Regions from separate parts of the Homo sapiens genome. Here all the other regions are linked to region 3. The links are contacts of gene promoters, found by promoter capture Hi-C in blood cells and fetal thymus (Javierre and others, 2016). All regions are on one chromosome and are shown on one strand. Each heading gives the region's core, a stretch centred on a gene start or on the middle of the fragment in contact. The rest is flanking DNA. Distances are from core to core; before and after follow the strand shown.

The links. Contacts are between HindIII fragments. The CHiCAGO score rates a contact against its expected background, and 5 or more counts as called.
Region 1: a fragment that was not itself captured here is called in contact with the fragment with the promoter of CECR3 in region 3 in 10 of 17 cell types (M2 macrophages, non-activated CD4 T cells, total CD8 T cells and 7 more); the score reaches 8.8 in M2 macrophages.
Region 2: a fragment that was not itself captured here is called in contact with the fragment with the promoter of CECR3 in region 3 in 2 of 17 cell types (non-activated CD4 T cells and M2 macrophages); the score reaches 5.8 in non-activated CD4 T cells.
Region 4: a fragment that was not itself captured here is called in contact with the fragment with the promoter of CECR3 in region 3 in 2 of 17 cell types (M2 macrophages and non-activated CD4 T cells); the score reaches 5.6 in M2 macrophages.
Region 5: a contact is called between a fragment that was not itself captured here and the fragment with the promoter of CECR3 in region 3, in 6 of 17 cell types (M2 macrophages, M1 macrophages, endothelial precursors and 3 more). The highest score is 11.9, in M2 macrophages.
Region 6: a fragment that was not itself captured here is called in contact with the fragment with the promoter of CECR3 in region 3 in 1 of 17 cell types (activated CD4 T cells); the score reaches 5.4 in activated CD4 T cells.
Region 7: a contact is called between a fragment that was not itself captured here and the fragment with the promoter of CECR3 in region 3, in 1 of 17 cell types (M2 macrophages). The highest score is 8.0, in M2 macrophages.

The regions. Positions count from the first base shown.
Region 1 is chr22:17,068,380-17,071,340 of GRCh38, reverse strand. No RefSeq gene overlaps it. Among named protein-coding and RNA genes, the nearest start is that of IL17RA, 15 kb to the left of the region's middle. The HindIII fragment of the contact is 677 bases long and covers 1,293-1,969 here.
Region 2 is chr22:17,114,980-17,118,006 of GRCh38, reverse strand. IL17RA (interleukin 17 receptor A) reads right to left here. Exons shown (of 13, transcript NM_014339.7): 13 at 2,314-3,027. It overlaps TMEM121B (transmembrane protein 121B), which reads left to right. Exons shown (of 1, transcript NM_031890.4): 1 at 1-1,710. Among named protein-coding and RNA genes, the nearest start is that of TMEM121B, 4.9 kb to the left of the region's middle. The HindIII fragment of the contact is 438 bases long and covers 1,279-1,716 here.
Region 3 is chr22:17,265,190-17,268,064 of GRCh38, reverse strand. CECR3 (cat eye syndrome chromosome region, candidate 3) reads left to right here and starts at 1,332. Exons shown (of 3, transcript NR_038398.2): 1 at 1,332-1,542. The HindIII fragment of the contact is 21,393 bases long and covers 1-2,875 here.
Region 4 is chr22:17,091,976-17,095,043 of GRCh38, reverse strand. The region is part of intron 1 of IL17RA (interleukin 17 receptor A); the gene reads right to left. It also overlaps the pseudogene RPL31P62. Among named protein-coding and RNA genes, the nearest start is that of IL17RA, 8.5 kb to the right of the region's middle. The HindIII fragment of the contact is 2,792 bases long and covers 9-2,800 here.
Region 5 is chr22:17,463,830-17,466,743 of GRCh38, reverse strand. The region is part of intron 1 of CECR2 (CECR2 histone acetyl-lysine reader); the gene reads right to left. Among named protein-coding and RNA genes, the nearest start is that of CECR2, 96 kb to the right of the region's middle. RefSeq lists an enhancer at 619-1,377. The HindIII fragment of the contact is 3,741 bases long and covers 1-2,914 here.
Region 6 is chr22:17,051,084-17,054,131 of GRCh38, reverse strand. All of the region lies in intron 3 of CECR7 (cat eye syndrome chromosome region, candidate 7), which reads right to left. Among named protein-coding and RNA genes, the nearest start is that of CECR7, 16 kb to the right of the region's middle. The HindIII fragment of the contact is 3,382 bases long and covers 1-3,048 here.
Region 7 is chr22:17,416,213-17,419,373 of GRCh38, reverse strand. All of the region lies in intron 1 of CECR2 (CECR2 histone acetyl-lysine reader), which reads right to left. It also overlaps the pseudogene TERF2IPP1. Among named protein-coding and RNA genes, the nearest start is that of CECR2, 48 kb to the right of the region's middle. The HindIII fragment of the contact is 5,330 bases long and covers 1-3,161 here.

The DNA.
Region 1 (2,961 bases), core at 382-2,881, 200 kb after region 3:
GGTGTGGTGGTGGATGTCTGTAGTCCCAGCTACTCAGGAGGCTGAGGCATGAGAATCCCTAGAACCCAGGAGGTGGAGGTTGCAGTGAGCCCAGATGGCGCCGTTGCACTCCAGCCTGGGCGATGGAGTGAGACTCTGTCTCAAAAAAAAAAAAAAAGAAATAATACTAATTATATTCAAGAAAGTGCTTCAAAAAATTGAAGAGGAGGGAATACTTCTAAACTTATTCTAGAAAGTCAGCATTACTCTGATACCAAAACCAGATAAATACACACAAAAAAGAAAACCACAGGCCAATATCAAGCATAAACATAGATGCAAAAATTCTCAACAAAATACTAGTGAACTTCAACAACATGTTAAAAAATAATTCACCATGATCAAGTAAAATTCATCCCAGGAATTCAAGGATGATTCAACATACGCAAATCAATAAATGTGATACATCACATTAACAGAACCAAGAACAGAAGCCATATGACCATTTCAATAGATATTGAAAAATCATCCAATAAAATTCAACATACCTTTATAGTAAAAATCCTCAGCAAACTGGGTATAGAAGAAACATACCTCAAAATAACATAGGCCGTAGATGACAAACACACAGCTAACATTGTATATTGAAAACCTTTCTTCTAACATCTGGAATAAGACAAGGATGCTCACTTTTCACCACTTTTATTTAACATAATATTGGAAGTCCTGGAAGAGCAATTAGGCAAGGGAAAAAAATAAAGAGTACTAAAATTGGAAAGAAAGAAATCATAGCCTTGTTCACAGATGACATGAACTTACACTTAGAAAAACCTAAAGACTCCACCAAAAAACTGCTAGAACTGGTAAACTAATTCAGTAAGTTGCTGGATACAAACTCAACATACAGAAATTAGTAGCATTTATATATGTCAATGGTGAATAATCTGAAAAAAGAAATCAAGAAAGCAATCTCATTTACAATAGCTACAAAAATATGAAATACATAGGAATCAATTTAGACAAATAAATGAAAAATCTTGATATGGTTTAGATGTTTGTCCCCTCCAAATCTCATGTTGAAATGTGACCTCCAGTGTTGGAGGTGGGCCTACCCGGAGGTGTTTGGGTCACGGGGATGGAATCTTCACAAATGACTTGGTGTTGTCCTGCAGTAATGAATGAGTTCTCACTCTATGACTTCATGCGAGATCCGGCTGATCAAAAGAGCCTGGCATTTCCTCCCGCTCACTCTTGCTTCCTTTCTCACCATGATTTGCTTGCTCCCTCTTTGCCATATGCCATGATGGGAAGCTTCCTGAGGCCCTCATCAGAAGCAGATGCTGGTGCCATGCTTCCCTTACAACCTGTAGAACCATGAGTCAAAATAAACCTCAGGAGGGACCACTCTGGAAGTAGACCCAGCTGTTCTGATGCAATTCAGAAACTCTAACTAAACTGAAATCTGTAACTCATCTCAGTTCCAAATTTTGGACTGAGCAGCCCCAGCCAAACTGAGACAGTAATTCTGATCTCCTTAAAGTGGTAAGCATAGGAAAATGCTGTGAAGGTGTAGAAATAAGCATTGTGATAAGAAAAATGTCTACCAAATCCGTGATATTACTACTTTGCATTAGGTTTAGAAAAAAACTGAAATCATCATGGTAATTTGTATGTATTATTTGTTTCTTAAGGCATCTGAAATATTTTGGAGAATGTCATGTTAGAGAATCTGGCATATTATGATTGTGATATTAATTTGAAATAGTTAAGAGGATTTGATATTCATCTTGTGACTTATTTTGAAATATTAAAAAAGTTGAATGATAATAGATTCGAATATTTTTAAATGTGTAAAATAATTTGATTATTTTGTAATCAGTATTGAGATTTTTCCAAATAATTTGATTTATGAAAATTTTAAATTAAGACTTAAGTTCTGGGTAAGGAATTTAAACGCTTAGGGTGGTTCTGTCATAAAGAAACGAAAGCTTGTCTTATTAGGACTTTGATGAGAAGGTAGGGTACATTATGTTGATGACTATGGTTTGACGTGCCCAGGAAACCCAGTTATCCAATTTCATTAACATATCTTCCAAAAACAGATGTTAAATACCTTTTAAAGAACTCTGCTGTTAGCTGCTAAGGTTAAAAACTTAAAAATTTTCAGGCTGGGTGTGGTGGCTCATGCCTGTAATCCCAGCACTTTGGGAGGCCAAGGTGGCTGGATCACCTGAGGTCAGAAGTTTGAGACCAGACTGGGCAACATGGTGAAATCCCATCTCTACTAAAAATACAATAATTAGCTGTTGAACCCTAGAGGTGGAGGTTGCAGTGAGCTGAGATCATGCCACTGCACTCCAGCCTGAGCAGCAGAGTAAGACTCCGTCTCAAAATAAATAAATAAATTAATTAATTAATTAATTAATTCACAATCAAAGTGATTTGAGGAATGGGGATAAGCGGAAGTTCCCTTGTGTTTGCTGGAATCTGAAAGGCTTTTTGATGGAGTGACTTTTGAGAAGGGTCCTGAGGAATGAGACAGTGGGTGAAGGGGGAGAAGGGCATTTTAGGCAAAGGAAAGGCATAGAGTTTTTTCAGGGGATGCAAGAGGTCTAATGTGACTGGATTGGCTGATGGGTTACAGCAGGGGAGTTGGGCTGTGAGGAGCCATGGGTGTGTGTTGGGCAAGAAGGAGACATTTTGATTTCACAAATACTTATGGAGCGTGATGAGCCATGCACAGCACAGGCACTAGACTCAAAAGGCCACAGGAGGGAGAGCTTCAGAGGCTCCACGGGGCCTTTGACAATGCTGAGGTGGGGATCCAAGTCAGATCCCAAGGAGAAAGTGGCTATTGTGGAGGTGGAGCTCCCATGCAAAGCAGGCCTGACTTAACAAATCTTAAAAATAGCAGAAAAGCCAGTTTCAGTGTGGGGGCTCGAAGGGGCAGCAGAGGAACCCCCTTGCAATTCTGAGTAGAGT
Region 2 (3,027 bases), core at 248-2,747, 150 kb after region 3:
ACAGGATGTGGTGGGGGTGAAACTTGAAGAATTTTTGTTTCCCCTTCTCCCTTCTTACGTTTGGGAAGTTTTATGTAGTGTAACAAACTCTAGACGAGTTACCAGAAGATGTGGATTCTAGTTCTGATTCTGTCACTCATTGGCTTTGAGTGACATATTTTTATTTCCTGGGCCTGTTTTCTCACATTAAAAAAGTAGAAGTTAGATGAGTGATCTCTAAGGTTGAAGGTAATTTCAGCTCTCACATTCTTTTGAGTTTGTGGCTCTTGAAAGCCCTGGTCCTGATGCTCCCTGTAAAGGTGGCTGGGAGAGAAGCCAGCCAGGCTGCACTTGCAGAACATTCCCTGCTCTGTACTGGGTGTGTGAAGCCCCAGCAGAGAAGGCCGGAGGGAGGGCTTGGGTGCCTGGGCTGGGTGTGGGGCAGGGCCTGGCACAGCTGCAGAGTGCACAGGGAGGGTCAGAAGTGCCAAGTCACTGGCCGTTAACTCAGCACCCAGGCCAAGCCCCCGCCTCCCACTTGAAGCCCCCTCTTACAACTGTTTTGGGGGCTTGGAGCAGAAGACACCCTTGTAGACAGACATAAGAGGGGCAGAAGGCTTGACCAGAGTTCTCTTGAGCCTCCTCATGCTCTCAGAGCAGGGAACAGCGGGGGAAAATGTTTACACTCCATGCACAATCTGTGCTTCCAGTCCCTCACCCTATGTGGCCCAATAGCTGGCTGGATTTCACACTTAATTGGTATTTTTTTCTGCCTTCTTCCCCTGCCCCCACTGACTCCTCTCCTCTCCCTTTGATTGTACTCAAGGTTCTGGGGCCTGGGCCCTGGGTGGGTACCAACAGCTGCTCGCTGTTCCCATGTCCTCTCTCCAGCTTTGCTGTGTTTCTCTGCTACCTAATCTCAGTGACTGTGAAAGGACATTGTGTCTGAGCCATGGCCAGCCGCTGGCTGGCCCCCTGATCTGCCCCCCTTCTATTGTTTGGATGGCCATCTCCTGCTGGGCCTCCCTGACTGTAAAATCTCTGTACTGTTTGTTAGGTTTTTGGTGGGAGGCTGTGATAAGTTCCAATGAGCTGCCACTTCCCTGGATATGTCAAGAAGCTGATGGCAACTTGGCCAATTCTGGCAGATATCAGGCCCCCAGTTCAGCCCCAGTCACCCTCTTTTACACATGTGGGTCAACCACTGTGTGCTCAGAGGGTCAGTCCCTTCCTCTGCTGTGTTTTTCTTGAGTCCTTGCACTCACTTCCCCTGCCCCAGTCACGATGACCCCTAAAGCTTCCTTTGCCCTTGCTTTCTAGGGCATCCCTAGTGAAGGGGCAAACCTGAGATTTCTCCGTGGACCTGACAGCCAAGGCAGGGCACTGTCTCCTGAGGCCAGTGCCAGCACGTGCATGGTTCACAGAAAAGGATCCTGGGCTCAGAATCTCGAGAACCGCCTGCTCCTAACAATTCAGCAAGTCAGGGGCTTCCTCTCTGTTAGTCCCCAAATCCTTACTTATTTTAAAAAGACTAGACCCTCTCTAAAGACTGTTCCATTTTAACATGTCCTGATTCTGCATCCGTGGGTTTTGTGAAAGAGAGCTAGCTGGCGGTTAGAGCCTGGAAGAAGGAGGGAAGTGGCACCTCACTAGCATTTATCACTTTTTTCCTTCTCTTTTTAAAAATAAAACCAGACTCTGTTCTGAAAATAAAAAACTTGAGACTTGTGACAAGCTTCCTGTGTGGTTTGTTTTAAGATCTTTTCTGTCCTGGTTTCCTTACAAAATTCTTAAATGTCACTGTGACATTCGCCATTATTTTATAAGTTTGTGTTAACATTATGGGTACACCTTGGCCCTTCTAGGCAGTTGGCATGTTTTTCAGGGAGGCAGTGAAGCTGTGGCCTGGAGCTGGTGAGTGTCTTGACATGCTTTGTTGGCACAGCCAGCTCAGCTCTAATGGACTCAGCCTGAGAACGATTTTTTCTCATCACCCTCGGCTCTCTCTCACTTTTCTTTCCTTCCTTCTTTCTTTTTCTTTGTTTTTGAGACAGGGTCTCACTCTGTCACCTGGGCTGGAGTGCAGTGGCGCCATCATAGTTCACTGCAGCCTCAACCTCCTGGGCTCAAACAATCCTCCTGCCTCAGCCTCCCAAGTAGCTGGGACTACAGAAGTGTGCCACCACGCCCGGCTTCCCATTTCTTTCTAAAAGAGTAGCTTTCCAAAGGGGGAACATCTTGAGAAACTAATTTTTAAATACTGTGCCCTCCTCTATCACTCTTGCCCCAGCCAGAAGCACAAATTCTTACGTATGAATAAGAAGAACAAGGCCATGGGTTTTTGTTTGGTTTTATTTTAACATGAAGGGTAGTATTAAGTCTAAGCAAGAACACTGGGCCTGCACCAAAATAAACAAACACACAGTGATTTTTTTTTTTTCTTAGCACAGAGGCAGCCAGTATTACACAGCCCCTCTCTGTGTTGTGACCCTAGCTTGCTGCTTCTGGCTGTGCCAAATGCTAAGCAGGCGTTTCACTCAGGGCAGCCCGGGAGGCAAGGTCTGAGAGTGGAAGCTCCTGGGAGCCTGAGCTCTCTCTGCCTCTCGTTAGCTGTGGCTTTGGCCATCAACTGGAACTATGTCATTATTTATAAAACAGGAGCAATCACAGGGCTGTGGTGAGAATCACATGAGGTGACACATGTGAAATGGTCCTTTCCCCTAAGACATATATAATTGTAACAAGGAACAAAATTTACATAGAAAATAATTACAGAACAACGTAGGACCATGTCTTCATTTCTCCCTGGAGCGGATGTAAAATAAGGTGATTGATTTGAGCAAGCATGTTATGAATATTTAGAAATGTCTTCTAGGGAAGCAAGCTGGCGCTCACCGATTTTGGTTTGCCAGGCATATCAGAAGGCACTTTGTGACAGGTGCAGTAGGGACGCGGAGTGATCTCTTCACGTGTAGGCAATGCCCAGCCCACACCTAGGCCTTGCCTGAGTCTGGCCATGCAGTTCTTGCCCTAAGGAAGAACAGGAAA
Region 3 (2,875 bases), core at 83-2,582:
TCACTGCAGCCTCTGCCTTCCGGGTCCAAGCGATTCTTGTGCCTCAGGCTCCTGAGTACTGGGACTATAGGCGCCCAACAACACAACTGGCTAATTTTTGAATTTTTAGTAGAGACGGGTTTCACCATATTGGCCAGGCTGGTTTCGAACTCCTGACCTCAAGTGATCCGCCCACCTCGGCCTCCCCAAGTCCTGGGACTACAGACCTGAGCCACTGCGCCTGGCCTAGACTGGTGTCATTCTGACATTTCCAGGCCACGAAGCAGTCCCAGACTCAGCAGCCCTGGGCATCTGCCGTAGCCCTGTTGTATGATCTGCTCTGCCACTCATGAGGCATGACTCACCCTCCTACCCTCTCCGAGCCTCAGTTTACTCATTTAAATCTCAAAGCCTCCACAGATAATTGGGAAATGAAAGGAAAATCGTGTAAGTATGAATACCTTCCACAGATAGCGGGATCTCATTAATACTAGTTTTCCCCTTTCCATACCTCCCAGCAAAGAAAAGTTGGTAACTGCAGGCCTCTGAACTAGTGCCCCACATCGGAGATACCGGCCACTTCTTACTGAACATTTGCCTGTGTCTACTATAAGGATATAAGATCATCTCAACCTCCCAAGAAGCCGATATTAGCACCCCCATTTTTGCAGCTAAAGAAACTTAGGTGCAGAAAAATGAAATAGCATATTCAAGGTCACAGAATGACCTGGGGCAGAGCTACAGTCTAGACCCCCATCTGTCTGATATAAACCCCATTCTATGAACCCTCAACATTGCTACTCCCCTTCCAACGCCACTGGAGCAGAAAGCTCCAAAACTGGGTGAAGCACATACAGCTCTATAGCAGGCAACCCCATTCCTGTGTTCCACCTAGTGAAGAACCAGGAGGTTGTGCATGACCAAGGTGGTTCAGGGTGAAGGTCAGGGGCTGGCTGAAAATGGAAGGCATCTCAGGCTGGGTCTTTGACTGTGATTATGTCAGGGTTGGGGCTGAAATATTGTGAGTGGTAACTGAGGTTTCAACCTCTTCCCTAGGAAAGAGTGGGGGTGGGGTGGTGAAGCTGGTTAATTGAGATGGGAGGGTTGGGGTGGGGGCAGGCAGAGCCTTCCAAGGCCTTCAGATCCGGTGCTGTTACCGTAAACAAGTGCAACCCTCAGCTCCCTGGAGGGCCTGGGGAGCAAATGCGTGCATCCCTGCTTCGTTCCCAGCAGCTGTTCACTGGAGGACGCAGCCTGCCATCCCCAGCCGACCTCCTCCACAGCCTTCCCCAGCCCCCAGATCAAGCCTCAGGAAGTGGCGCTGCTGAGAATCTCTCCTCCAGCCCTGCCTCCTGCCGAGAGTGTCTTCAGCGCCAGCATTTCCTGGCCTAATTAAGCTGGGTAATGAGTAGCTAAGAGGAGGGGATAAAAGCCCTAGGCGGCTTAGAGCTGGGACAGTTTATGACAGGGGCGTCTGCAGCTGGTGACATTCCTAGGAAAATTATTTCTCATAACCCTGGGAAGTTGCATGCTGTTTCCTTAGCAGCAGAGTAAGCCTCAAAGGTGAGCATGGGGAACACTGCATCTTAAGGGGGCCTGACTGGAGGGTCCTAAAGGTGACAGGTGGGGGGTGCCATGTGTCTGTAGGACTGATCAGAGCTGCAGAGCAGCTACAGGCCACCCGGGCTAATGCCCTTAGCTTAGTCCGAGGCCGGGGCATCCGTGGTGGCCACGTGACTCCCCAGGGCTTGGGTTTTGTGTTTCTTCTGAATGATAGGACTCTGCACAGCATGCAGTTTCTAAGACCGTATCCTTTCAGGGAAGGAAATCTGAGCTAGAGGCTCTGATCCTGACTCCTCCGCAGCCCACTATTAAGGGTGTGAAAATTGTGTTTTGGAAAATATCAGGTGCCCCAGCAGCCAGGAGTGGGTAGAAGAGCTCTCAGACAGGGGCCCTGGGGGAAAGGGGAAGGTGGGCACCAGGCGCTCTGGACACCAGGGCCCGCCCTTCCAGAGACACTCAGGAGCCCAGCGTTGATTATCCCCACTCCCACTCTGCAGCCACAGCCTCAGCCCCCAAATTCTCCTTCTTTGGCACTCAGTTTTGTTTGTTTGTTTTTTGTGTCAGTTCTGTTTGTTTTTGTTTTCTTCAGTCACCTTGCACTCCTTCCTTAGTTGGCCAGGGAACTTCGTGCTGTATGGGGTGGAGCAGGGCAAGGCCCAGGCTCTGGAGCTCGGCCCATCCCCACGTCTCTGAGTGAACTTGGGAGATCAGGTGACCTCTCAGCCATGGTTTTCCCATTTGTAGAATGAAGGCATTAGTGATGTCTAGTGTCCAGTATGTTATGAACCGCAACCTCCACTTGGCCTGTGAGTGGCGAGCGAGGCTGAAATTGGGCCATGTTTCCCAGACCTTTCAAATTAGGTTACCCAGTTTCACCCAAGAACATTTTTGCCCCAATTATCCTGTAAAGCAGAGTCATAGCTAGTGAGTATGTATTTTATTATTATTATTACTGTTATTATTAGAAACAGGGTCTCATTCTGTCATCCAGGCTGGAATGCCATGGTGTGAACATGGTTCGACCTCCCGGGCCCAAGCAATCCTCCCACCTCAGCCACCCGAATGGCTGGGACCACAGACACGTCACCACACCCAGCTAATTTTTGGTATTTTTTGTAGAGACTGGGTTTCACCATGCTGCCCAGGCTGGTCTCAAACTCTTGGGCCCAAGCGATCCTCCTGCCTTTGCCTCCCAAAGTGCTGGGATTACAAGCGTGAGTCACTTCGCCTGGCTGAATACCTGTTTTTGATGATGGAAGGGCCCATTCTCCTGCACTCTTGTAATCAATATTTGTTCTTTTCCAATTTTCTAAACAAGACCTGTCTGGTGCAA
Region 4 (3,068 bases), core at 155-2,654, 170 kb after region 3:
ATTAAGCTTATACTAGCTTTAAAAAAAATGGACAGCTTTCCCTCTTTTTCTGTGGTACTGAATGGTCATCAATAGAGAATGGCTGAATTAAGGTGAGATCTAGTTTAAATCTAAATGTCCATCAAACTAGAAATGGTTGAATAGATTGCTATCTACTATGGAATATTATGCAAATATTAAAGAGAATGAGAATTAGTTGCATAGACATCTGTTGACCTGCAGATGGCTGGAATGTGTTGATGAGAGAGGAAAATAAGTTTCAAATAACTTTTTATAGTATGATCCCAATTTCTATGGAAATAAGTCATGAAAAAGATCTCCCTGAATATATATATATATATATATATATATAGAGAGAGAGAGAGAGAGAGAGAGAGAGAGAGAGAGTGTGTGTATGACTAAATGAGAATAGAAACATGTTAACAGGTGTTAACACAGTTTGCTGGGGGCAAAGGGCACACAAGCAGAGGAGATGGCATGAGGGAAGATAAGGGGAAAAAAGATTTAATCAAAACTGAAAAATATACATATAGGTGAAATATAGAATAACAATTCTATTAGAGGTAATAGCGCATTGACCATATACACATATTTTCTCCCTCTCTCCAAACAATATAACAATTATAGGAAAGAACATTTTTTTTTGTAAATTCTCAAACTCAAAGAGCCAAACTCAGTGGACAAAAGATGTGAACAAAATTTTAAAAGTCCTTTCCAACTTGGCCCCAGCAGCATAGCTCCTGTAAAGAAGAGTGTTGGCTGGGCGCAGTGGCTCATGCGTGTAATCCCAGCACTTTTGGGAGGCTGAGGTAGGTGGATCACCTGAAGTCAGGAGTTTAAGACCAGCCTGGCCAAGAGATGGTGAAACCCTGTCTCTACTAAAAATACAAAAATTAGCTGGGTGTGGTGGCATGTGCCTGTAGTCCCAGCTATTTGAGAGGCTGAGGTGGGAGAATTGCTTGAACCTGGGAGGCAGAGGCTTCAGTGAGCCAAGACTGTGCCACTGTACTCTATCCTGGGCGACAGAGCGAGACTCTGTCTAAATAAAATAAAATAAAATAAAATAAAGTAAGATAAAATAAAATAAAAGGGCTATTCTGTCACCTGCCACCAATGAGGTGGTGACACCAGAATATGCCATCAGCATCCACAAGCACACCCATGGAGGGGACGTCAAGCAGTGTGCCCCTTGGTCACTCAAAAAGTCCCAGAACTTTGCCATGAAGGAGATGGGGACTCCAGATATGCTAACACCAGGCTCAACAAAGCTGTCTGGACCAAAGGAATAAGGAACGTTCCATACTGTGTCCATGTGCAGCTGTCCAGAAAGCATGAGGATGAAGATTCACCAAGCAAGCTCTATACTTTGGTTACCTGTGTACCCATTACCACTTTCAGAAACTGACAGTCAGACATTGTGGATGAGAACAAACTGTTGATGTCAAATAAAATTATAAAACCTCAAAAATGAACAAATGAATGAATAAATAAATAACTGTCCAAGTGGCAGCAGAGTAGGCAGCTGGCTTGTGCTGAGTGGAGGAACTTCTGTCTGAATGCTACAAAAGGGAGTTATTGATAAGGAGGCCAGGGGCCCCTCAGAACCTTATAACGTTCAGGGCTTAGGGGCAGGGAGAATTAAGTGAAGGTCTACATATGGAGTGTTGGGAACCTTATCCTCTCTTTCCGTGCTCTGATCTCAGAATGCTGGCAGCCAGGCCCAAAAAAAACACCTCCAGATTTCAGCATTTGGAGGTCACCCAATAGGCCAGGTTCACGATTAGCTTGACCTCCTATACAGTGAAGTCCAATGTTCAATAAACCTTAACTACACAGAGCATTTAATCAGCTTTTAGGACTTCATTCTTAAAATATTCTCAGACAGCCAAGGAGTACCAGATATTTGAGATAGGTTTTCTGTATGAAAAATAGATCAAAACAATTAAAAAATGCTCCTGGAAGGAAAAAAAAAACAATGCTGTTAACACAATTAAACCAAACAAGTAAAATTATTATAGCCCCGAAGAGATACAACACTGCATCTGTAAGACAGGGGCAGGACACCATGGACAAATGAGCAGGCAGAGAATGAAAACTGAACCTTGAAACTCAATAGAAGTTCTACTAAATAAAAATTCAATAGAAGGGTTAGTCTATGAAATTGAGGACATTTCTCTGAAAGCACAAATAGAATAGGAAAAAATATATGATCATTAGAGATTCAATTTAGGAAACAAAATATGATTGACTAGATTTCTAGAAGGAGATTAACAAAAAAACAGAAGGAAGAAGTTATTTTTTAAAAAAGGAAAGAAAGAAAATATTCTGGAAGAGAAGGACACATATTCCCCGAGAGTGTGGAAAAACTCAAGCTGTATTTTTCCTCTGCCCTCACATCACCACAACAATCAACAGAAGTCACAGAAGACTTCTGTGACTACATATTGGCGGGGGGTGGTTTCTTCCCACCACCAAGCAAGCAATCAATTCGGCAGCAGACACCAGCTGGGTATCCTCCAATTTAATTCTGACACTATTTGGAGATAGCATCAGATCCCACAGGTTGAGTGCTCAGTCCCCAAGACCGCCCACCCCCTAGACACCAGTGGTAAGTCTGGGCCTCCAGAACTTCTAAGACCAACCGGGTTCAACGTGAGATTCTCATGCTCCTCTCTTTCAGTTCAATTAATTTGCTAAAGCTGCTCAGAGAACTCAGGGAAACACATTTCCCAGTTTATTTTAAGGATATCACAAATAATACAGAAGAAAAGGTGAGGTATAGGAGAAGGAGTACAAAGCTTCCATGCCCTCCTCAGGTGTGCCACCCTCCAGGAACCTCCACATGTTCCACTACCTGGAAGCTCTCTGAACCCCGTTTTTATGGAGGCTTCATGTGAGCATGACTGATTAAACCACTGGCCATTGCAACTTCAGGGGGCCTTCAGTTCCCTCTCCCCTTCCCAGATGTGATGGGTAAAGGGGTGGGGCTAAACGTCCCAGCCCTCTAATCCTAACTTGCTTCCCGGGACCAGCCCCCATCCTGAAGCTGCCTAGAGGCTGCCAGCCAC
Region 5 (2,914 bases), core at 204-2,703, 200 kb before region 3:
ACGCGCCTGTAATCCCATCTACTCAGGAGGCTGAGGCAGGAGAATTGCTTGAACCCGGGAGGTGCAGGCTGAAGTGAGCTGAGATAGTGCCACTGCACTCCAGCCTGAGCAACAGAGCAAGACTCCTTCTCAAAAAAAAAAAAAAGGCAAGGTTTTAAGTAACAATAGTGGTTACCATCTTGGGGACAGATACCAGGTTTCCATTCTTTGGCTTATTTACTCTGCACAAAACTCTTCAAAGTAGGTATTAATGGCATCATTTTACAGATAACTAAACTATGGGCTGACATAAAGGGTTTTCAGTGTAATTCTCTCTCACAAAATAGAGTTACCTTGAATCCAAATGCTTAGAAAGTTTCTTCTAAGATGCTCATTCAATTGTTTTAATTTTGAGTAACAGAAATTTGCTTAAAGAAATGAGGGAAACGACAATAAATAGCCTGAAACCAACCTCAATCAATACAGGTTATGGATTTTTACAGAGGTCACTTGATTGAATCCATTTTAAAAGGAGCGGAAGGCCAGGCGCTCTGGCTCATGTCTGTATTCCCACTTTGGGAGACCAGGAGTTCAAGACCAGCCTGGCCAACATAGCGAAACCCTGTCTCTACTAAAAATTTAAACCCTGGAGGCGGAGGTTGCAGTGAGCCGACGAGATCATACCACTGCGCTCCAGCCTGCGTGATGGCGCAAGACTCTGTCTCAAAATAATAATATAAATAAATAAATAAATAAAGGAGCGGGGGGTAGTTACTTTACCATGTTCAATAAATGCTCTGAGGATTCAATAACACGTGTTGTATTCTCATTATTAAAATCACTTTAGGCAGGGTGCAGTGGCTCATGCCTGTAATCCCAGCAATTTGGGAGGACGAGGTAGGTGGATTGCTTGAGGACAGGAGTTCAAGACCTGCCTGACCAACATGGCAAAACCCTGTCTCTACTAAGAATACAAAAATTAGGCTGGGCGTGATGGCTCACGCCTGTAATCCTGGCACTTTGGGAGGCTGAGGCGGGGGGATCACGAGGTCAGGAGTTCATGACCAGCCTGGCCAAGACGGTGAAACCCCGTCTCTACTAAAAATACAAAAATTAGCCAGGCATGGTGGCACGCACCTGTAATCCCAGCTACTCAGGAGGTTGAGCCAGGAGAATCGTTTGAACCCAGGAGGTGGAAGTTGCAGTGAGCCAAGAATGCACTACTGCATTCCAGCCTGGGTGACAGAGCAAGACTCTGTCTCAAAAAAAGGAAAAAAACAGGTGGTGAATGCCTGTAATCCCAGCTACTAGGGAGGCTGAGGCATGAGAATCACTTGAACTCAGGAGGTGGAGATTGCAGCAAGCCAAGACTGTGCCACTGTACTCCAGCCTGGGAGACAGAGTGAGACTAGGTCTCAAAAAAACAAAAAACAAAATAAAACACAAAAACAGTTTAAATAGAAATATTTGGCCAGGTGCAGTGGCTCACACCTGTAATCCCGGCACTTTGGGAGGCCGAGGCGGGCGGATCACGAGGTCAGGAGATCAAGACCATCCTGGCTAACACGGTGAAACCCCGTCTTTACTAAAAATACAAAAACTTAGCCGGGCGTGGTGGTGGGCGCCTGTAGTCCCAGCTGCTCGGGAGGCTGAGGCAGGAGAATGGCGTGAACCCAGGAGGCGGGGCTTGCAGTGAGCTGAGATCGCGCCACTGCACTCCAGCCTGGGCGACAAAGCGAGACTTCGTCTCAAAAAAAAAAAAAAAAATTTAAATATTGATGTTTTAATGATCATGAATGTGCACCTACCTATAGGTCAAATACCCAACTGTCAAGTGAATTAGAAATTGTGACTTAGAAAAATTTTCAGAAAATACTATCAGAAGTACATTGAAAAACTTAATAGAGAGGCTGACGTGCTCTCGAAAACTGCACATCAATACTTTCCTTCAAAAGGAAGTTCTGGACTGGGCACAATGGCTCATGGATGTAATCCTAGTGCTTTGGGGGACTGAAGTGGGAGGACTGCTTGAGTCGAGGAGTTTAAGACCAGCCTGGCAACTTTGTGAGATCTCATCTCTACAAAGAAATTTTTTTAATTAGCTAGGTATGGTGGTGCGTGCCTGCAGTCCAAGCTATTCAGGAGGCTGCAGAGGGAGGACTGCTGGAGCCCAGGAGTTTGTGGCTGCAGTGAGCTATGAGCATGCCGCTGTACTCCAGTCTGAACGACCAAGCAGAGAAGAGAGAGACCTTGCCTCAAAAGAAAAAAAAGACTTTTATTCCTTAAAAATGTAATAAGCATAACAAATGTTGGTAGCTGCCAATATTAACTGAATTGGGCCAAGACAGTGAGGGGTGGCAGAGCAAAGATGCCCTCTGTCAAACCCCTACTCGTCAGAGATAAGCAGCAGGGAGAATATGGCCACTTCTTTGACAATTTAAGAACTAGGAGTTTTCTTTTAATTATGTGGACACCTTTTTAAACTTGATACTAGTAAGAAATTTCATCAGTTGGCCTAAAGAGAAGAAATTCCTGCCTAAGCAATTACCTGTCTCAACTGATGAAGCAGTTCACTAGTGAAACTTCATTAAAATGACTGAAGCCTCAGAGATGGTAACAAAAACTTCTATACAAAATCTTAATGCCAGTATTAGTGATGCAAACAAATTTTCATTCCCACCATTGTACTGCAACCAAGCCAAATTTAACAAATGGTTCTCAGCCTCCATCATACTAAGTTTAAAAGCAGCATTTAAGTTGATTCTATCTTAAAATAATTTCTTCTCTGGCTTTCAGGACACACCCACCCACCACCGCACTGCTATTTCTTTTCCATCTTTGCTGTTTTCCTCACCCTAGCCCTCCAACTCTACTGCTGGAGAACCACCCCTTGGACCTCTTCTTTTCCCTGCTCTTGCTTCCCTTTCTGCTCTAC
Region 6 (3,048 bases), core at 313-2,812, 210 kb after region 3:
TTGAACAATGATGGTATTGTTATATCATTCCTTCTTCATTTATGAGCTGCCATACTTCCAGAAAGAAATATTGCTACCCTGAGAAGGGCCTTCCATGAAGAAAAAAAAGTAAATATAAAAAAGAGATGCAGCTTCTTATAAATTATTGTGCTACCCAGTTGTACAATTTATATAGAAAAGGCCAGTTAGTGGCTTGATTTGTTCTTTTTGTTTACCATTTTTCAAAATGATGGTCTGCTTCATTTATATCCTTTGATGGTGACTACTTTTATTTGTTTATTTATTTAGACAGGGACGGTCTAGCTCTGTTGCTCAGGCTGGCATGCAGTGGGACAATCATGCCACCACAGCCTCAAACTTCTGTGCTCAGGCAATCCTCCCATCTCAGCCTCCTGAGTACCTGGGACCACAGACATGGGCCCTTAAGCCTGAGTAATTTAAAACATTTTTTGTAGAGACAGGGTCCCCCTGTGTTGTCCAGGCTGGTCTTGAACTCCTGGGCTGAAGTGATTCTCCTGCCTCGGCCTCCCAAAGGCATGAGCCACTGTCCCCAGCCCACATTTATTTATTTATTTATTCTTTTTTTTTGAGATGGAGTCTTGCTCTGTTGCCCAGGCTGGAGCGCAATGGCGAGGTCTCGGCTTACTGCAACCTCCACCTCCTGGGTTCAAGTGATTCTCCTGCCTCACCCTCCTGAGTAGCTGGGATTACAGGCATGCACCATTACACCCAGCTAATTTTGTACTTTTAGTAGAGATGCGGTTTCACCAGGTTGGCCAGGCTGGTTGCGAACTCCTGACCTCGGGTGATCTTCCTGCCTTGGCCTCCCTAAGTGCTGGGATTACAGGCATGAGCCCTTGTGGCTGGCCAACCCACTTTTATTTTTTATAAAGAATCATTATGAATGCAGACATTCAAACACATTTGATGTATTTCAATCCACTGCAATTATTATCCTTATTAATGTATAAAATGTCCTATCTTTGGTTAGAAGGAGTCCCTTCAGATTGGCTCTTCAGACGTGTTGAAAGCATCCTAATCTTTGATAGATTCCTTGCTATCCAGAGTGACAGTGTTCCAGGCTTATCTTATACATTTCTGGCCTAGACCTGGAATCAGCACTCTCTCCAGGAAGGCTTGTTTTCTTTTAGTGGTATTTTGAGACAATCTTGGTGCTAGGGGTAAATATTGTAATTTTAAAACTTAAAAAAATTGCCTGGTGCAGTGGCTCACGCCTGTAATCCCAGCACTTTGGGAGGCTGAGGTGTGTGGATCACCTGAGGTCAGGAGTTCGAGACCAGCCTGGCTAACATGGTGAAACCCTGTCTGTACTAAAAATACAAAAAATTAGCTGGGCTTCATGGCAGGAGCCTGTAATCCCAGCTACTTGGGAGTCTGAGGCAGGAGAATCGCTTGAACCTGGGAGGCGAAGGTTTCAGTGAGCTGAGATCGTGCCATTGCACTCCAGCCTGGGAAATAAGAGCAAAACTCTGTCTCAAAAAAAAAAAAAAGAAAAAAGAAAAAAAAAAAACCTTAAGAAAATTAACAGCTTTATAGAGGTCTAATTTACATACTAAAATTCACCTATTTTAAGTGTACAATTCAATGATTTTTGTGTGTGTGTGTGAGAGACAAGATCTCACTCTGATACCAAGGCTGGAGCATAATGGTGCTATCATGGCTCACTGCACCCTCAACCTCCTGGGATCAGGTGATCCTCCTGCCTCAGCTTCTTGAGTAGTTGAGACTACAGGCTTGTGCCACCACACCTGTTTAATTTTAAAAAAACTATTTGTAGAGATGGAGTCTCTATGTTTCCCAGACAGGTCTTGAACTCCTGGGCTCAAGTGATCCTCTTGCCTTGGCCTCCCAAAGTGCTGGGATTACAGGTGTGAGCCACTGTGCCTGGTCCAATTCAACGATTTTTAGTATATTTAGTATATTTATGGAATTATGTAACCATCACCGAAATCTAGTTTTAGAACATTTTGTCATCCCAAGAAAGAAACTTGTGCCTATCAGAGTCACTTTTCAGTCTTATTCCCAGCCCTCGACAACCAGTAATCTGCTTTCTGTCCCTATACGAGGCTGTCCTGGACATTTCATATAAACTGAATCATGCAATGTGTGTTGTTTTGCATCTGGCTTCTTTCATGAAGCATTGTGTTGTTGAGGGTGACCACTGTGGTAGTGTGCCTCAGAACTTCCTTTTGATTGTTGAGTAGTATTCCTTTGTATATCCCACATTTTAATCCCTTTGTCAGTAGATGGGCATTTGAGTTGTCTCCACCTTTCGATTCTTGTGAATGGTGTTGTGAATATTCACATACAAGTCTTTGTGTCGACATACATTTTTATTTTCCCTGGGTAGATACCTAGAAGTAAAGTTGCTGGGTTTAAAGCAGTTTTATTTTTAACATTTTAAGAAACTGACATACTATCTTCCAAAAAAGTGGCTGCACCATTTTATATTCCCACTGGCAGTGTATGAGGGTTTCGATTTCTCCACCTCCTCTCCAGCACTTGGCGTTATCTGTCTTGATTGGTTGTATTCATTCTAGTGGGTGTAAAGCGACATCCCATTGTGGATTGATTTGCATTTTCCTAGTGACTGATGTTAAACACTTTTTAATGTGCTTATTGGACATTAATATATCATCTTTGGAGAAATGTCTATTCATGTTCTTTTCCCATTTTTAAGCTGGATTGTCTTTTAATATTGAGTTGTAAGAGTTCTTCTGGATATATCACTTATTAGACATATGATTTATAAATATTTTCTCTCATTCTGTGGGCTGTCTTTCCCTTTTTTGATTGTATCTTTTGATGTGCCAAAGTTTTAAATTTGGCTGATGTTCAATTTGCCATTTTTCATTTTCTCACTTTTTCCCTTTCCTCCTTTTCCAGGTCTCATTATTTAGCCCCAGCTGGTCTTGAACTGTGCTTTTGACATTGCATCTAAGACATCAGTGCCTTACACAAGATCACAAGGATTTACTCCTGTGTTTTTTTCTAAGAGTTTTATAGTTTTAGTTTTTACATTTAGGT
Region 7 (3,161 bases), core at 246-2,745, 150 kb before region 3:
TGCAAGCATCTTTTACAGTGCTTCTTCACTCTCCTGGATTTCTACCTTCACATGCTCTTCCTTCAGGCCGATGTGGAGTTCTCTCACTCTGTGGTTCCCATTATCCGCAGCCAGGTGGCCTGCTCCAGTCTTCCGCGGGAGCTTCTGGGAGGAGGGGCGCCCCAGGCGTCCCCTGGCAAGTGCTCGTGCTCCTGACCCCGCGGGGGCTTCAGGGACCGCCACCAGGGATGCGTGGGCGAGTTGTCCACAAGCCGCTGCTGGTGATGGAGCTGGGCGAGCAGCCATTTTCCTTCCCGTCAGTCAGGACAGCCACGTCATCCGCGTCTGGGAAGGCGCCTCCGCGGTGCCCTTGGCCAGGGCCCCGGGCTTTGTCTCCGAGCAGTGTCCCCTGAGGCGAGGCGGGGCCCAGCCGATAGGCTCCAGCTCCAGCCTCTCGCTGGCTCCACCAGTCCAGGATGTACCTGTGGAAATGAAGTGGCCCAGGGCTTCGGCCCGCGCCTCCCGGGCTCCTGGACCTGACAGTGCGGTCACCCTGCAGGATGAGCTCGGCCGGGCTGGGCCCCACGTGGAAGAACACAGAGCTGCTGTCCTCCCTCTCCCGTCCTCCCTCTCTCCAACAGAGTCGAGGAATGGATGGGTCCATTGGGGTCTTTGCCCAAATCCATCGCCTCCGCCATGTCTGACGCCGGGCACTAGAGGAGCTGCCCCTCGCGAGTGTCTGGCACACAGCGAGACTGACCTAACCTCATTTTTATATAGCTCATCTGGAGACCAGAAAGACTAAACAATACTTAAACAAAGTTAGTTACATGATTGCACAGCTCACAGCTAATTATAACAGAAACAGAAAACTATTAGGAAAGTATGTGAACGGATACAAGTAAAAGGGAGTTGGTTTCTGACAAGAGGTGCAATAGAAACCTCCCTCTCCCAGTACCTGTGGGGCTACTACAGTTCCGGGCAAAGACAGACACAGCTCAACAGAACGAAAATGAACCACTAAGCTACAGCGCAGTGCAGTAACACATAGGCTTGAGGATGCACAATTACTGGGACTAGATAAAAGTATATCCCATACATTAGCCTGGGAAGGACAAGTAAAACGGCATATGTTATGATTGCACTTATTTTCCAGGACAGACAAATTTATCTGTAGTGAGAGAAATCAGATCAGCCATTGCCTGGGGCAGGGTATGTGTGGTGGGGCAGATTTGACTGCACGCAGCATGAGAGAACTTTCTTGGGGAATGAAAATGATTTATATTTTTTGGGGGGTGGTGGTTATACACTTGTATACAGCTGTCAAAACTCAACTGTATACTTACAATCTGTGTAATTAATTGTATACAAATTATACCTCAAAGATGATTGGTTTTTATGTTTTTTTTTAAGGCTAAGAAGTATAATACGTTCTATCAAGATTCTTCTCAAAAGCGGAAAATTTAAAATTGAGGGCCGGGCACAGTGACTCACACCTGTAGTATCAGCACTTTGGGAGGCCAAGGCAGGTGGATCACTTGAGGTCAGGAGTTCAGGACCAGCCTGACCAACATGGTGAAATCCTGTCTCTACTAAAAATACAAAAAAATTAGCCGGGCATGGTGGCACGTGTCTATAGTCCCAGCTACTAGGGAGGCTGAGGCATGAGAATCCCTTGAACCCGGGAGGCAGAGGTTGCAGTGAGCCAAGATCACGCTACTGCACTCCAGCCTGGCTGAAAAAACAAGGGTCTGTCTCAAAAAAATACTAAAATAAAATAAGAGGCCAGACTGGGTGTTGTGGAATGCTGCCTATAGTCCCAGCTGCTCGTGTGAATGGCTTGAGGCTATGAGTTGGAGGGCAGCCTGAGGCAACATAGCGAGATCCTGTATCAATTTAAAAAAAATTTTTTTTCAGGCCACAAGTAGTAAACTGTAGTAAACTCCATTATATGGAAATCTCAGCTATCCAGAAGATCTGCTTCCAAGTAAATTCCAGAGAGCCACAATTTTACTTTTCATCCTAAGCAGAAATCGTAGCAATAACACCTTTAACCTAATTATTTTTTCTCCCTTTTTACAAGACTTGTCAAAACTTGACAGTGATTAATATTAGTTTCACTAAGTACAGCTTTTTAAGTTGTTATAAAGATAGTGCCACTCAATGGTTGTTGGTAGGCCTACATTTAAATTTATCTAAATGCCATTTCTATTCAAATGCCTACAACAGAAACTTCTGAAACGCATGGAGTAAAGGCAATCAAAAAATAAGTTTCTTCAAGAATTAACGAGGGTAAAACATCTACCACTGTATGTGATAAAGTTAAATTCTTAGATTTTTTTTAAAGTCCCTTTGTCGTAAAAAAAAAAAAAAAAGAATCTGACAATGTTGATGTGATATACGTATCAAGAGACTTTAAAAAGATTCATACTGTGACACTTTTAAGGAGTTACTATATGGAAATAATCATAAATGTGCACATTTGGTATCCAATGGTGCTTTATTTATTTAGAAAGAGAAAAAGTAAAGCTACTGACACAATCTAAGGTTCCAAATTGGAAGAACCATGATCCATCTATAATAGTATGATCAATGCCAGGCGTGGTGGGTCGCACCTGTAATCCCAGCACTTTGGGAGACTGAGGCAGGCAGATCACTTGAGGCCAGCAGTTCCAGACCAGCTCGGCCAACATCATGAAACCGTGTCTCTACTAAAAATACAAAAATTAGCTGGGCATGATGGCACGTGCCTGTAATCCCGGCTACTAGGGAGGCTGAGGCATGGGAATTGCTTGAACCCAAGACAGTGCCACTGTACTCCAGTCTGGGCGACCAGAGCAAGACTCTGTCTCAAAATAACAATATAATAATAACAGTATGATCAAGATTTGAACTCCTATAGCCTAGATTGTGGGACCAAAATCCTAACCAACATACCCTATTTGGTTTTGCCCATTTTATCATTCAGAGCATTAATGAGGAGGATGCAATTTGTCAATATCTGAGGGCAAAGGAAACAAATACAAAAAAAGGTCAGTGACAATAAAGGTATAGAAAAAAACTAAACATATATATATTCCATCTTCTTGACTCACAAAGCAAAAAGAAATTCCAAATTCCATATTAGTAATCATTTTAAGGAAGTGATAAATATAAATCACTGCTCCTTTCTTCATGTCTCT